2 separate regions of the Homo sapiens genome follow, and region 1 is linked to region 2. The links are contacts of gene promoters, found by promoter capture Hi-C in human tissues and cell types (Jung and others, 2019). All regions are on one chromosome and are shown on one strand. Each heading gives the region's core, a stretch centred on a gene start or on the middle of the fragment in contact. The rest is flanking DNA. Distances are from core to core; before and after follow the strand shown. Region 1 overlaps SLC9A9 (solute carrier family 9 member A9). Region 2 holds the start of CHST2 (carbohydrate sulfotransferase 2).

Evidence for each region. The method cuts DNA at HindIII sites, captures the fragments that hold promoters and counts their contacts. A contact is called where the count stands out against the background at its distance.
Region 1: a contact is called between a fragment that was not itself captured here and the fragment with the promoter of CHST2 in region 2, in 1 of the 25 tissues and cell types used here (spleen).

What each region holds. Positions count from the first base shown.
Region 1 is chr3:143,570,557-143,573,649 of GRCh38, reverse strand. All of the region lies in intron 8 of SLC9A9 (solute carrier family 9 member A9), which reads left to right. The region is part of intron 2 of LOC124906294 (a long non-coding RNA gene); the gene reads right to left. Among named protein-coding and RNA genes, the nearest start is that of SLC9A9-AS1, 230 kb to the right of the region's middle. The HindIII fragment of the contact is 5,590 bases long and covers 1-3,093 here.
Region 2 is chr3:143,117,887-143,121,020 of GRCh38, reverse strand. It overlaps CHST2 (carbohydrate sulfotransferase 2), which reads right to left and starts at 1,250. Exons shown (of 2, transcript NM_004267.5): 1 at 480-1,250; 2 at 1-377. The coding sequence starts at 204. RefSeq lists silencers at 1-67, 128-327, 388-467, 518-567, 598-647 and 1 more and enhancers at 1-534, 858-907, 1,193-1,692, 1,888-2,017, 1,693-2,194. The HindIII fragment of the contact is 8,898 bases long and covers 1-3,134 here.

The DNA of each region.
Region 1 (3,093 bases), core at 547-3,046, 450 kb before region 2:
GAGATCTTCACATATGTTCCATGGCAGGTAGGAAAACAAACAGCAAATGTGGTGGCTGTACAGTTTAATGTCTCTTACCACAGAAAGTCTATAGAGAGAGTCCTCTAAGGTGGAACAGTTGATAGAAAGGGGGCAGTTCGTTAGACCCAAGGGCTGCAGATCCTAGGATCTGGATTGAGCAATTAGGTTGCCTTTCTGCAACCATGAGGATTTGTGCTTGGGTTACTGCAACAATTGGGTGCTTTTCCATGCAGAAGAATCTCCATGGCTTCCAGCAAAATGTTAATGCTCTTTCTCTCCTCAAGCCACGTTCCCTGCTTCTCCCAGGTTTCAATCCTGGATCCCTTTCTGCTCATTACATCTTAACGGACATTCGAATGGTAAGAATCCTTCGTAACTGGTAGCAAGGTATACCTCCCTCGGTGTTTGCATTTTAATAGGTGATACTTTAAGTCTAAATAATAAATAATAATAAAAGTTGACATATATTGAGGGTGTACCATGAGCCAGATGCTGGCCAGCTGTCTTTCATAGGTGATTTCATTAATCGATAGAAAGATTCAAAAGTAAAAGACTATGCCCAGTTTACTCAGCCAACAGTAAGTGATGGAGCTGGGATTTAAAACCAGGAAATTCAATTTTAGAGCCTGGGTTCTGGGGGACCACGCATTTCTACCTCAAATGAAACTCCATCTGTGAAACATCAAGCGGACCTCTAAGGGTAGGTAGGAAGGAAGTAGTTGGAGCCCCAGGCAACTGCCTGGTTCAGTTGCTCCTTGGCTGGTCTTGGCTCTCCTGTGAATGCCATGGCAAATCTTTTTAGTAATGAGAACCTATTGCTTTAATCAGCTGGCCCAACTTACTGCAGAACCACACAGTCCAAGCTATTCCCGTTGGCTTCAAGGGTGTTTGCTGCCAATACAGAAAGCCACCCACCAGTTCTTATGACACTATAATCAAGACTACATTACTGGATTCCACCCTACCAGGCCTTTGTATCTAAATTATTTCAATACAAATTCTGTTATTTTAGTGCATTGCCACTTTATTAAGGAGGTAGCTGGAAAGCTTATGCATTTCAGAAGAAAACAGTAGCCATGTCCCTTCAGTGAAATAATGTAGGCAAATCATTTACATCACAGTCATTCAAAAAACATTAGTTCCCTTTCTTCCACATTCTGTATTCTATTCAAGTTTAACTTATAAAATGATCCAAGTAGTATTAATAATAAGAAAAAATATTTGACCTTCTAGAAAGGTAAGGAAGTATCTTAACTCACCTAATATTTTTTAATCTACTGTTGGATGTTATAATAAACACACGCGCACACACACACACACACACACACACACCATTGCCTAAGAATTGTCAATTTGTGTAAAAATTGTCTATTTCCTTGTCCATTTCAGCAAGATCTTCTTCTATCAACTACATTAAAGGCTAAGATCCATGGGAAACTGAACAAATTGCTAGTTTGCTTGATCCTTGCTCTTTCACACCCTTTCAACCTGATATCCTTACTGAGCTGCCATACAGACCACCTTCTAAGGAGCCAGCATCATGGGATGGGTGAATATGGGTGTGAACCCCAGTAACAGAAAGATCCAAGTGTCCATGGCTGTACCGAGGGGCAGACTCACCCCCGAGTAGTACACTAGATTTAGGCAATGTGCCTAACAGACATTTGCTACAAACCAAATTCTAGGTGTGAGCATTTTCTATTGCCAAAGACCAAGACCGCTTAGTCCAAATTACTTATGTGTTTGTTTGTTTATTATTTAATCCTTGCCTATTTCCAGATTGGATTTGTGACAACTCATAACATAAGCCATGCACATCACAGGACCATTTAGTTGAGGGTAAACACTCAAGTGCTCTGGGACAGAATTTTTCTGCAAAATTAGGCCACTGTTCATTGCTGTGGTTTGGCAATAAATATAGCTCTGAGCTTTCTGGCAGTCAAAGCCAAAAGGGGAACATGATGAGTTATACAGGAATAATACAGCATTATTTTTTTTTAAGTCATGCTTATCAAAGTGGGCAAACTTTATTTTTCATACTAAAATTTTAGGGGAATTTATCACATGCATCTATATATAAGGGCCTTTGAACACCAGAATGGACAGTGTATTTAATAATAATTTTAGGGAAAATGGAGGTTCATTCTTCATATGGTCATTTCTCATATCAACTTTCAATAAAACCTGAGGGTGTGGCCTCAAATTATAATTCTGTAATTATTTCCATGTAATAATAAAATCATTTTAGTTCTAATGCACAGGTAAACTAATATGATACAAATCTAAAAATCTAGAAAACTTAAAAAAATGATTTCTGCATGAATAGACAACAATGAATACAGTAAACTAAAATGGAAAGAGCTATTAAATAGTTTATGAGTAACTACAGAGGTAACCAGCAATCGTGGAGCCTTGTATGGGTTCACTAACAACACTTAATGTAGCTCCTAGAGATGGTATTAACATGGAATGATTTCTCAGCAGAATTCCCCAGGCCCTGACCTTTCAAAGTGCGCCCTCAAGAACATCCGTCTAGTGAGCAGGGCTCTCGGCCGCCTACCCATACTTCACCCCTTTTATTGGTTTCAGAAATTGGGATATCACATACAATTCTATTTGAAAAAAAATGTTCTGCTACTTTAAACAAAGCACATCTGTTTTTAAATATATTTTATTTTTTTCGTACACCCAAGGTAATCCATACTCACTGTAGAAAATTTAGAAAATGCAGATTTACAGAAGGAAATAAATTTAGAATCACTTATATTCTTATTGCATGTTAATAACAATTGTTAATATTTGGCTGTGTCAAGCTAACTATATATATATAATTATACACACACATATACACTTAAATATGCCTACCTAAATATACTCGTGCATGCATATATCTATATATTTCTTAAGTAACTTGCTTTTTTCATTCAACAATTTATAATGAAAAAAATGCCATGAATGGAGCATTAAAAAATTTATAGTGAATGTTTTCCAAAACATTGAATACTCCATCATATGAACTTGCCATAATTTATTGTAACAACCTTTTGATTATTTACAGGTTTTAATATTCTT
Region 2 (3,134 bases), core at 1-2,500:
GAGCACCAGCAGCAGTGCATAGCCCGCGCACAACACCAGCGCCTTCCTACGGAACACCTTCATTCCGAGAGGGGACGCGGGCCAGCGGCGTCCTGGGCGCCGGGGCCACTGCGGGAGCAGGGCACGCGGCGCGGCTGCAGGCGCAGCCTGGAGCAGCCGAGGGAGCGCGCCCGGGGGCAGAGCTCGCTGCGGGCTGCGGCTCATCACAGGCACAATCCGGGCCGGCGGCGCGGCGGAGGCAGCCCTGCAGCCCGGGAAGGGGACGCAGCGGGCTGGCTGCTGGCGCCGGGACTCGGGCCGCGACTCCGAGGCGGGCGCGGCGGCTGGTCCCCAGCGCCCAAGGCTGGCTCTCCCATGGCAGCGGCTCCGGGTAGGACCTGCGAGGGGAAGCGGAGTGAGCGGATGCGCCCCAATCTCCCTCCCAGCCTCCTCCTCCTAAGTAACGCCCACCCTCGGTTCTGCCCGGTTCCTCCGCTCACCTGGAGCCGAGGGCGCGCCCGGGAGCGGCCCCGGATCACCGCCCGGCGGACTGTCCGGCTGTCACTCGTTCCTCGATTTCGCTCCCTCTCGCTTCCGCTGGGGGTCCCCGCACCTTCGAGGGGTCTGGGGAGTCGGCCGACTTATCCCTGGGCAGTTTCCGGGCAGCGGGCGCCCTGCGGCTCGGGAAGAAAAACTTTCACGCGGCCCAGAGCCCCGCTCCGCGCTCCGCCGAACCCGGCGCCTCCCGGCTCCAGCGACGTCTCCTCCGCTTTCTCGGGACCGCAGCTTCCTGTCTCGCTCAGGGGAACGAAGCCGGCTGGGGGCGATGGCTGGGGGCGGCTTATATGGGACTCAGCTCCCGGCATAGCGGCGCAGCCCCTCTCGCTTTCGGCCTCCGTGCGGCGAATTTTCCCACCTCTCTGGCAGCGGTGGATGGGGCACAGCGCGACCCCGCAGCGGCGGCGGCGGCTGCTTCCATCACCGGGAGGATGCCCGGGCGGACAGCGCAGGCAACCCCCGCCGCTCCGCAGCCTCCGACTGGACCAAAGGACCCCGAACACACAGCTCTAGGCAAGGAAACCCAGGTGTGCAGCACTGCCCGACCCGACCCAACCCGCCCCCGGTACCAGCGCTTCTGGCCAACGAGGTATTTAAGCAAAGAAAGACCCCGCCGCAGCCGCCGCCGCCGCGCGAAAGCGGCGCCCAGGAGGATGCTGCTACCCGACTCCCCTTACGCCGGGCGCCCGCAACGCGCTCGGACCAGCCTCTGCGCGGCTCCTGCCAGCCGGCGCCCGGTTGGTGCGCGCCGCCGTCTGTCGCCGCGGCTCCTCCCCTCCGCCGCGCAGCCCTCCCCCTTCGCCGGCCCCGCCCCCGCCCCCAACGCCGAGCCGGCTCCCACCGTCGCTGCGCCTCGGGGGCTGGAGACGCGACCCGCTTTACCGCGACGCGCGGGGGCTGCAGTCCACGGGTCCGAAGGCTTAGCTCTGCGCGCAAAGCGCCGGGATGCGAACGCGGGATCTGGAGCTCGTCGGTGCCGAGAGCTGCCAGAGAGTTGGATTCTGCGTGCAGCTGCCGGACTCGGCCCCATGTTTTTGCTCTCAGAAAGAGTTGGTGATGAAGTTTGGGCAGAAATCCCCTGTCGGCCGTCCGCTCCACGCTTCCCTCGGGGCCGACACTGCCAACCTCTCCGGGCACTGAGGACACCTCTGCGCCCTGGAGCGGTGGGAGGACGCGGAGCGCCGTTCTCTGGCTTCCGACACCCTGCCCGCCCTCTCTAGTGGGTCTGTGGCTGCGCCCTCTCGAAGGAAGTAATAAATCTTTCTGACCTTGGGGGTCAGAGGAGACGCTTCAGTTTTCCGGAGGGGTGTGCGGGCGGGACCGTCTTTCCGCTTTACTGGACCTCTGGCCGGGGCTGCTCTTGTTTCATTGTGCCCCACATGCGGAGCCCCGATGCTCTCCGCATTTCCGCTCGCGGTGCTGCGTCCACTGTGATTGACGTCCTCTGGAATTGGGGTGATGGGGGAGGGGAACGCCCCGTTCTAATTTGCAGAAAAATACTTGTCCCGCTTCTTGGTTTTGTAGATGAGATCAAAGAACTTGACCCCAAAGGAAACACCGTTGTTGAAAGAAAATCATTTTTCAGTTGCTTTAGGTTTAAGTACTTTTGTTTAAGGTTATGAGGAAAAGCGTCTCTCTCTCCCCCCAACTCCCTCCCTCCCCAAGAACACTAAGCTGTAGCCTCAACTTCATCTGTAGAATGGGGACAGTTGTAACAGCCTCCGGAGACTGAACGGTGGTTGAGTATCAGAGCGCGCACACGAAAGGTTAGACCTGAGTTCAGGCCTCCAAGTGCCGAAAAGGGAATCTCCGTGGGGCCTGAGGCTCAGCACCCTCGGATAAACAGAGCTCTCGCTGATCCGGAGTTTTGTTGCCTCCTGTCCCAGTAGAGTTTTTAGAAGTTACTGCACAATTATCTTTGTAGCGTTTCGGGCAGACTTTTCAGAGGACCGTTCTAACATTAAAATATTGCTGTTTGCGCCATTATTCTTCCATGAGTCTTACAGAATCCCCTGAGTACAAAGACTTGAAAAGTGACTTAACTCGCTTTCCACGGGTTTTTAACTCTCTTACGGATTTAGTTTCAGGGGAGAAAAATGTTCAAAAAACTTATTTATCCTTGTTTTCCAGAAAAACCCATAATGTCACGAGTACAGTTCAGCTTATTTTTTCTCCTGGGGAGGGGGATTGGGACAAGGACAGCAGAGCTCAAATTTTATATCCAGCTTTCTCAAATAATATGGCATTGCCTCTGGAAGTGGGTCGAGACAGGCAAGAATCCCTGTTAACAGATGAAGGTGGTAGAGTTTAATTGAGCGACTCCCCATCTTTTCCTTTTCTGGAATCCCCAGCCTCCCTTCGCCTACTCTCTCAAATGCCCCTGCCCCTTTTTCACCACCTCTTTTACCACGAAAACTAAAATGACATTGGTGCATGAAAAGACTGATGGGAGAGAGAGGGAATTGGGGAGGAAAGTAAATCTCAATTTTAATATTCAACATGATTCCAAGAAAAATAATTTCTAATATTTTTCATTTAGTTTCTGGCTTTGTGCTTACCCAGAAAAAAACTGAATTGCATTAGTCGATGTAGGGACC